Regions from separate parts of the Homo sapiens genome. Here region 1 is linked to region 2. Evidence: promoter capture Hi-C in 16 types of primary human blood cells and fetal thymus (Javierre and others, 2016). All regions are on one chromosome and are shown on one strand. The core of a region is centred on a gene start or on the middle of the fragment in contact, and the rest is flanking DNA. Distances in the headings are between cores, read along the strand shown. Region 1 overlaps LOC105379126 (a long non-coding RNA gene). Region 2 holds the start of MCC (MCC regulator of Wnt signaling pathway).

Region 1 (4,694 bases), core at 2,186-4,685, 520 kb before region 2:
CCTCTACCTGGCAGCCCTCATGGAGGAAAGCTGCTCTCCCTTCCACAGACTTGGTGCACAGCTAGTGTGCTGCAGGCTCTGATACAGTCACGGGTCACATAACAGCATTTCAACCAACAACATATTCGAAGGTGTTGGTTCCATAAGATTATTATACCATATTTTGACTGTGCCTTTTTTGTGTTTAGATATTTTTAGATCTATAAAGCCTTACCATTGTATTACAATTGCCTATAGTATTCAGTATAGTAACATACTGTACAAGTTTGTAGCCTGGGAGCAATAGGCTGTACTATATAGCCTAGGTAGGTTATGCCATCTATGTTTGTACCAGTATACTCTATAATGTTCACACAATGACAAAATCGCCCAACAATGCATTTCTCAGAATGTATCCTGTTCTGAAGCAACTCATGACTGTAAATATTTGCATTCCTATCCCTGGTGCCTCCTTCATTCCTAGGTTTCTTTATCTGAGGCCTTGTGCAGAGGATTTTTTTTTTTTTCTTTTGAGAGAGGGTCTGGCTCTGTCACCCAGGCTGTAGTACAGTGGTACAATCTCAGCTCACTGCAGCCTTGGCTTCCCGGGCTCAAGCACTCCTTCCACCTCAGCCTCCTGAATAGCTGGGACTACAGGTGGATGCCACCATGCCAGGCTAATTTTTCTGTAGTTTTTGTAGAGACAAGGTTTTGCCATGTTGCCTAGGCTGGTCTCGAACTCAGTAGCTCAAGCAAACTGCCAGCCTTGGCCTCCCAAAGTGTTGGGATTACAGGCGTGAGCCACTGTGCCTGGCTGGGGAGAGGGTTCTTTAGGCTTCTCTGCTGAGGCCTCCTTATGGGGAGGGGAGGGGAAACCTTGACATTCTTTTCCAGGTTGCCTAGGTACTCAGTACTTTTCCACTCTTAGCCTTTCCCCCTTGCCTTCCCCTACTCCACCTCAGAGTCCATAAAACTGCTGGAGCTTTTTCTTCAGGGATCCCTTAACAGTGATATGACTCCATGACCCCCTACATCCGTGCTGACTCATGTGACCTGCAGCTAGTGCGCAGTTCCATGGGGGAAATGGAACAGAAACTGTGGGTACTTTCTCTGTTTCTTGTTTGTATCATTGCAGTAAACGCTACTCTCATTTTTGGCTCGTTGGTCTAATTGGCTACTCTGATACCTGTTAGCTCAGCTAGTGCTCTCTGTCTCTCTCCCAGCCCGTTTCCTGACAATTCTGGGTCCATTTTCCTACAGATCTTTCAGCTTTGCCCCATTCCACACATTAGCTTCAACCTCAAAGTGATAGTGAGTAGTAGTATATCAGTCACTGAGTACTGGCTGTAGAAGTTCCAGACATCATATCCTGACCTGATGACATCCAATGAAAGAAGAGAGACTTTTTCATCACGAAGTTTTAAGCAAGAGTTCTATGGTATACACTGACTGGACTATGTAGGTATGTACCTGTCCAGAGAATGGGTACATTTCCAGGGAATGGAGTGTGGTGTTTGATTTACCAACCAGATTTTGGCCTTTGAGCCAAAAGTGTTTCTGGCTTCCCCAGAGTCACATGTGCTGTGTGAGGGAAGCTAAGGGATACATGTCTTAATCAGGGTTCTGTTAGGAAAGAGTAAGGGGTGAATTCAGGGCCTGCTATTAATACATAATTTGCAGAGCCTGTTCCTCTCATGAAAATATAGAGCTCCTTATTCAAAAGGCAGGAAAAAAGTGTCACTAAAGGTGCTAGAAAGCCAGGCGAGGTGGCATACACTTATAGTATCAGTTACGCAGGAGGATTGCTGAGCCCAGGAGTTTAAGTCTGGCCTGGGCAACAAACTGAGACCTCATCTCTTAACTACAACAACAACAAAAATACTAGAATATAAAGGCTTTTTCTTTCTTTCACAGTTTCTCTCTTCACTTATGGTGTTTTTGATATTTAATGTCATTCTAAATAAAGATTAAAATTAAAATTAAGTAAAATTAAATTCATTCTAAGTAAAATTAAAATCATTACAAAGACTTTTTACCATCTTTATATTATGCAATGCTGGCTTTTTTTTTTTTTTTTCTTTTTTATTTTTTTTTTTGAGATGGAGTCTCGCTATGTCGCCAGGCTGAAGTGCAGAGATGCTATCTCAGCTCACTGCAATCTTTCCTCCCGGATTCAAGTGATTCTCCTGCCTCAGCCTCCCGAGTAGCTGAGATTACAGGCATGCACCACCACACCCAGCTAATTTTTGTATTTTTAGTAGAGACAGGGTTTCACCATATTGGCCAGGATGGTCTCGATTTCCTGACCTCATGATCTGCCCACCTCAGCCTCCCAAAGTGCTGGGATTACAGGTGTGAGCCACTGCGCCCAACCACAATTTTGGTTTTAAATGCAAATATAAGAACATTTAACTTGTACGTGGAATCACTGAAATTACATAATTCTTATTTCATACTTTGTACATGTATGATATATTTCATTGTTACCAGAACAGTCAAAATGCTGTACGAAAGTCAACTGTTTTTACGTCACTTCTTGATATGCACATACATATTCTACCACACTCTCTACCTTCTTATTGATGAGGAAAAAACTAAAAAGAAAAGGAAAAGATGGGTTGCTCGATCTTCCCCTTTCCTTCTATGTCATCATTTTCAGCATAAGGGGTTGGCTAAATCAGGAAAGCAATAGGAAAGGATATGATAGAGTTTCTTGGTTCTTTGTGTTTTTAGACTGCCATTGTCTTCTTGCATTAGAACAAGTTCTGATACACAGGAAGCTTGACCTCCTAGGGCTGACAGCGACCCCACCTACTCAGTTCCTATGTGCCTATGTTGTTCTTACTCTGAATCTTGCTGAACTTTCATGCATTGTGAGTTCAGTGAAATTCTATTTAAATAGGACAATGCAAATGCTATATGCAAATGGCATGGCAAAGAGTGAGTGGACATGCATATTGCACGTCTCGGCTCTGCTCATGCTCTATTGTCCCTCCAATTTTACTTACAAAACACAAGTTCAAAAACAAAATTGAGAATTTCAAGATGGTAACAGCAGAGCATTAAACCAAACATGGGGCCTTTCTGAGTGTAGGGTTCTGTGCAACTATACGGTTTATACATACACACACATGCAGCTGGCCCTGGGTAAATGAGTGCTGGGCATGCAAACAAGAATGACCACTACAACCTGCATTTACTGATTATGGAAAAGGGTTTGTGTGTAAAGAGAAAAAAAACCCAACAACAAAAAAACAAGATACTTTATGCAGCAAAAGTTTATTTTTTGCTCATGCAGAATCTGGAGCAAATGCTCCAGGGTAGCTCTCCTCCAAGCAGTACACTCAAGGGTCTGTGCTTTTTCCAGTGTGACTCCACTATCTAAAGAGTTCTTTGCTTTCAGCTGGGAAGAGAAAAGGGAGAAATAAAAATTATGTGAAAATTACATAGAGCATTTCAGGAGCTGTGCTTTGAAGTTGGGTATATCACGTTTATCTTCATTCCACTGGCCAGAACTCAATTGCGTTTTTCCATCTAAATGCAAGGAGGCCTGTGAATCCAGGAAGAGGAAACGGGATTGGTGAGTGACATGGTTTGGCTGTGTCCCCACCCAAATCTCATCTTGAATTGTAGCTTCCATAATTCCCATGTGTCATGGGAGGCACCTGGTGGGAGGTAATTGAATAATGGGGGTGGGTCTTTCCTGTGCTGTTCTCATGACAGTGAATAAATCTCACAAGACCTGATGGTTTTATATAGGGGAGTTCCCCTGCACATGCTCGTTTTGCCTGCTGCCATGTAAAATATGACTTTGCTCTTCCTTTGCCTTCTGCCATGATGTGAGGCCTCCCCAGCCATGTGGAACTGAGTCAATTAAACCTCTTTCCTTTATAAATTACCCAGTCTCGGGTATGTCTTTATTAGGAGTGTGAGAACGGACTAATACAGTCAGCATCTAGTAAGACTGCCATAGAGATCAAGGGAGATTTTTGTTTCTTGGTAGATGTTACTAAAACATATTATATGCTGTGGGAGATATTATACTAGAAAGAGTGTGGGACTAACAGAAGGGGCAATTATGTATTACTCTATAAACATTGAGTTGAACCATAAGAACTTTGTAGGGATGTGAAGAAGCTTTGACAGACTTAATTTAACCTCACTCTATTTAATTATTTATTTATTTTTATTTTTATTTTTTTTGAGTCAGAGTCTCGCTCTGTCGCCCAGGCTGGAATGCAGTGGTGTGATCTCTGCTCACTGCAAGCTCCGCCTCCTGGGTTCACGCCATTCTCCTGCCTCAGCCTCCCAAGTACCTGGGACCAAAGGCGTCTGCCACCACACCTGGCTAAGTTTTTGTATTTTCAGTAGAGACAGGGTTTCACCGTGTTAGCCAAGATGGTCTCGATCTCCCGACCTCATGATCCACCCGCCCTGGCCTCCCAAAGTGCTGGGATTACAGGCGACCTCACTCAATTTAAAAGGCCAATAAGCAAGTTAAATATTTTTTAGGATTCAGTGACAGCTTATTTTGTTGTGAGATTATTATATTTGAATATTATAGTATAATATGCTGTACAGGCATAAACAATAGTTTTTGTGTCATTCTCCCTAAGGCAGAATTCCTGCTATGAGTTTAGAACTGAATGCTAGTCCTGACTCAATTATATACTGTTGCTTAATCATTAATCTTTGAGTCATTTAATCTTTATAAG
Region 2 (4,725 bases), core at 1,700-4,199:
TTTGGGAAAGCTCTGCTTTAATGATACAGGCACAACTTATTTCCACTTCCTTTTACATCTTCTTCCCTAGAATTTGGGGATGAAGAGGGAGACAGGGCAATCACCTTTGGACTATGAGATAACCATGAGGATGAATGCTTTATGTGAAAAATGGTGTTGGAGAAAGGTAGAAGGTAGCTGGGGACTGACACCACCGCAGAGCTGCTGCCCCAACCTAGATAGCCTACCTCCAGATTTCTACTAGGTGACAAAGCCAACCCTTACTTGACTATGGTTAGGTTACTGTGATGACATATAGTCATCTGAAATTCTAACAGATACAGCTGTCTACCAGGAACATAAATTTAACGTCTTTAGATGAATCCAAAGTTTTTAAGGTTTTAATGTTAAAAAGTCCAACTCTCATGTCTGATAGAACAGGAATGCACAACCCTCCAAACCACATCACCCACTACAGAGTGGTAAGTACAGGTCATTAAATGAAAGCAGCACAGAAAAGTGGCTTCAGAGAGGGAATCATTTAATGCCCCTTACCTTCATTAGCCCCATTCCCCAAGTCTTACCACATAAACGTAAATTCCAGGTAAAACTGTGCTTACCAGGTAAACACACTTCCAGACAAGTTCCTTGTTGCCCTAGATTGCCATCCCTAAACTTCTCCTACATGGCAATTCTGCCACAGCATAATTTTCAGGGCAGCTCCACCCACAGTTAAAGTTATGATTTAGGGTTCATTACTACACATACCTTGAAACTTTTAAGCAGACACATTAAAGTAATGCAGCTCAAGGAATGTTAACAACTTTTTCCACTTTTGCCCCAGCCAGTTTCTACTCTAATCCAAAACGGCTTCTTTATCACCACCCACTTTACTCAAATTACGCTTACAGAATTCATTATCCTCCCGGGTAGAATCACCGAAAATAATGTGAGCATTTATATAGAAAGTGTAGTTCAGATAAAGCAATATATTAATAGGCCAAATTAGAAAAGGATAGCACGCTGCTAGTTTTCTGTATGCACTCTTGCCCGTGTGAAATTAAACTTTTTTGCATCCATGCGGGGAGCGGTGGCTCAGGCCTGTAATCTCAGCGCTTCCTAAGGCCGAGGCGGGCGGATCACTTAGGGTCAGGAATTCGAGACCAGCCTGGCCAAATTGTGAAGCCCCTTCTCTACTAAAAATACGAAAATTAGCCGGGAGTGGTAGTGGGCACCTGTAATCCCAGCTACTCGGGAAGCTGAGGCAGGAGAATCTCTTGAACCAGGAGGCGGAGGTTGCAGTGAGCCAAGACCACGCCACTGTACTCCAGCCTGGGTGATAGAGCGAGATTCTGTCTAAAAAAAAAAAAAATTGTATCCAAAGTTGGAGTTTGCCTTTATTATTGCAAATGAGATAATAACCTTTCAAGTAGGAAAACAACAAAAAGGAAAACTATATAATGAAATTTCTTTTACTCCCAGAACCAAAATAACGAGACTTCCAGATAGAAATTTGCATGGAGTCAATCAGAATTACATATTATTTTCATTTCCGAACAGAATTACTCCATCAAGTTTTCTGATATCTTCCTAATGTTTCTCAGTAAAACTTTAGCAAAGTAATAAAAATTCACCTAAGAATGATCAAAATTGCGTTGAGTCCCAAATAAATAATTTTTTTTATTTTAAGGGAAAAATTCCGCACTTTGCTTTCTTTTTTTTTTTTTTAGGTAGGCAGGGACAATCAGGAAGCAGCCCCGGATTTTCAGAAACGATCTTTAGCATCACCAAGACATAGACTAAAGAAACATGTAATGCACAACTTAGGCTGCTCCTTCATCCAAGGCAATTCAAATTTCCACGGATACCAAGTCTTCAATGGCCGGTGTCAACCATTCAATAGAAGCATACCAGAAAATGTTGCGATTGCCTTCTTCACCACAAGAGTCTAAGTGACACAAATTTGGGCAGAAGTAATTATTTGGCCAAGCCGGGAGGCAGGAAGCTTAAATACCGCCTCTGTAGGAAGTGCGGGGGATCCGAAGCAAACACCCCAAAGTTTGTTTGTGAGTGGAGGCGCGGAGGCGCCCGGAGCCACGCCGAAGCTCACCTGGTCAGCGCACAGAGCCGGGTAGGAGTCGGGTCTAGCCCTAGTTTGCTCCTGAGCGCTTCGTTCCTCTCAGGCTACTGCGTTTAAATCAATACTGGGTGGCAAACGATACCCATTCTTTGGGCTCTGAAGTTTGGAATTCATGGGTTCTGCGGCACAAGAAAGTTTCTTCACAGGTTATTTCCCTGTCCGAGGCTGTCGCTTAGCTCATCTCCTCCCGGTGCGGCCCTGGGGTGTCCACCAAGCCGCCGGGCAGATCGCTGCCCCGTGCTGCGGCATCTTGATGCCCAGGACCCCGAGGCTGTGGGGCAGCCCCTCCTACCTGGGACAAGCGGCCAGAACTCCTTTTCCCACAGGGAAGAACACTCCAAGCCCCCGGAAGAGTGCGCATCCTAAGGAGATGTCTCCCAACGCCTAGACAAAGACAGCGCTGGGAAAAGTTGGACCAACTGGCACCCCCGCAAGGCGAACAGAGCAGTCCCCTCGGCCTTCGTGGCCGAGCCGGCTACGCGCTCTCGGAGTCGCGGCCAACTTTTCCCGCGAGCTTCTGAGCAACTTGCCGCAAGTTGGGGCGAGGGGGCAGAGCAGGGGTCAAGGGCGCGCGGAGGGACTGATCTCGCTCCTGTCGGTTTCCTCGTACCTCCCCGCGTACCTGCTGATGTATCCGTCCCCGTCGCCGTCGCACGTCTGGAAGAGGCGCCGCATCCTCTCCTCCTCGCCGGTGCTGGACGTGTCGCTGCTGCTGCTGCTGCTGCCGCTGCCGCCGCCGCCGCCGCCGCTGCTGGAGCTCCCCGCAGCCGCTGCCGCCGCGGCCGCCATCATGCGCCCGCTCCCTACTTGGGAGGAGGAGTACGCGCGACCGCAGCTGGAATCCGCGCGGCGCGCAAGCTGCCTGCAGCCCCGAACTTGCCTGACAACGGAGCATGCCCAGTGGCCGCCGGGGCGCTCCGGGCGAGGGATTCCACCTCTCCGGGTTTTGCCCGGACTGGGAAGATGGGCGCTCTGGAATCGCCCGAGGAGGCACCTCAGGGAAGAGGGAGGAGGGGAAGGTGGCTGGAAGAGTCAGGGAGCTAAGGGTGGCAACGGGAACACAAGAGGAGGCAGAATACACTGGAAGCCCCCGGGAAGGGTGTCAGCATTGTGCATCCGGCAACGACGCGGGCCCGGGACACTTGGGGACGCTTCAGGCAGAGGGCAGGTGTACTCCCGGCAGACCTTCTCCGACCGCCCGGAGTCATGGCTTCCTTTTCCAGAGAAGCTATATAAACACTCTCCTTCTGCAAACTCAAAACGGTGCTTGTAATCCCACTCTCCAGGATTGTTCCGGGTTCTGTACCCATAGCCACCAATGAGAACCGGAATGACTGGCCTTTTTATGAAATTTTGACACCTGTCAAGAAACCTGGCCCTCGCAGCCCTCATCTTGGCTCCCACTCTGTACTGGGAAGAGTCTGCACGCTGTGTGGCATTGTGTACGTTGGGTCAATTTCTGGAAACGGCTCACTCTACTGGCCAGGCATCACTAGAATTTCCCCCAACAGCTTTAATAATGCCAAGAGCGAACATAATAGATGGTCTCATTTGATCCACACTACAGACCTGGAAGATGCCTCTTTTATTATCAATCCTACGACTTAGGAAGTATTAATAGATAAGTACCTCATAGAGTTATCTTACATATAAAAGGAGAGCAGACATAATGCAGTTAGGACAATGTCTGACACCTAGTAAGTGCTCAACAACTGTTAGCTCTCATTGTTCCCAATTTACAGGTAAGAAAACTGAGGTACCAAGACCTGCTCAAGGTTCCAGGTTTAGTAAGTGTTAGGGCAGAGGCAAGCCCGGGCAGCCTAACTCCAGAGCAGGAGCCTTTAAACACTGCACTATTCCCCCATAGCCAAAGGGAAACCACAGTGAAGCAATTTGTGGTTTCGTGAATGACTCATTATTCTGTCCTGGATTTTCTGCCAGAGAGGCGTGTGAAGTTCTCTGGTGGTTTTAAAATATGTCCACAGATTCTTTGGTGCACCCCTCATCAAGAGGTGGAGTCTGTTGCTTCCCCTAAACCTGGATTGGACTTGTGACTGCCTTGACTTCTGAGACTAGGTTAGAAAAGGCAATGCAGATTGCACTTGGCTCTCTCCCTTGGGACACTTACCTTTGAAGCCTTGAGCTGCCTGAAAAGAAGTTTGGCTACCCTGAAGCTGGAGAAACCATGCAGAAAGACCATGTAAAGAAAAAAGGAGATGACCAAAGAGCTACAGCTGTTCTAGCCCTGGATCTTAGAATCTTCCCAGACTAGGTGCCAGACATGAGTGAGAGATGATGCTAGCTCTAGATGCTGCAACTGCATTGGAGACCCTGAGCAAAACTGGCTAACCAACCCCCAGAGCTGTGAAGATAATAATTAAAAATTGTTGTTTTAAGCCATTAAGTTTTGAGGTGATTTGTTATGCAGCAATATATAACTGGAACAAGTCCATATGTCTTGGGAATGTCTGCTAGGTCAGAAGGAAGGAATCTCTGCTCTCTTTCTCCTCCTCTCCACCCCATCTACCTATTCCTACTTTACTTCTTTATTATTCTCTAAGTTCCCAGTATTTCAGGGCACTAAAATCATAGATTCATGAGTTAAT

Evidence for each region. Contacts are between HindIII fragments. The CHiCAGO score rates a contact against its expected background, and 5 or more counts as called.
Region 1: a fragment that was not itself captured here is called in contact with the fragment with the promoter of MCC in region 2 in 3 of 17 cell types (naive CD8 T cells, total CD4 T cells and activated CD4 T cells); the score reaches 7.0 in naive CD8 T cells.

The regions. Positions count from the first base shown.
Region 1 is chr5:112,968,572-112,973,265 of GRCh38, forward strand. It overlaps LOC105379126 (a long non-coding RNA gene), which reads right to left. Exons shown (of 2, transcript XR_948679.3): 2 at 3,240-3,382. Among named protein-coding and RNA genes, the nearest start is that of DCP2, 5.9 kb to the right of the region's middle. RefSeq lists an enhancer at 1,164-1,243. The HindIII fragment of the contact is 1,357 bases long and covers 2,758-4,114 here.
Region 2 is chr5:113,485,504-113,490,228 of GRCh38, forward strand. It overlaps MCC (MCC regulator of Wnt signaling pathway), which reads right to left and starts at 2,950. Exons shown (of 19, transcript NM_001085377.2): 1 at 2,742-2,950. The coding sequence starts at 2,911. RefSeq lists an enhancer at 2,849-3,143. The HindIII fragment of the contact is 3,844 bases long and covers 1,983-4,725 here.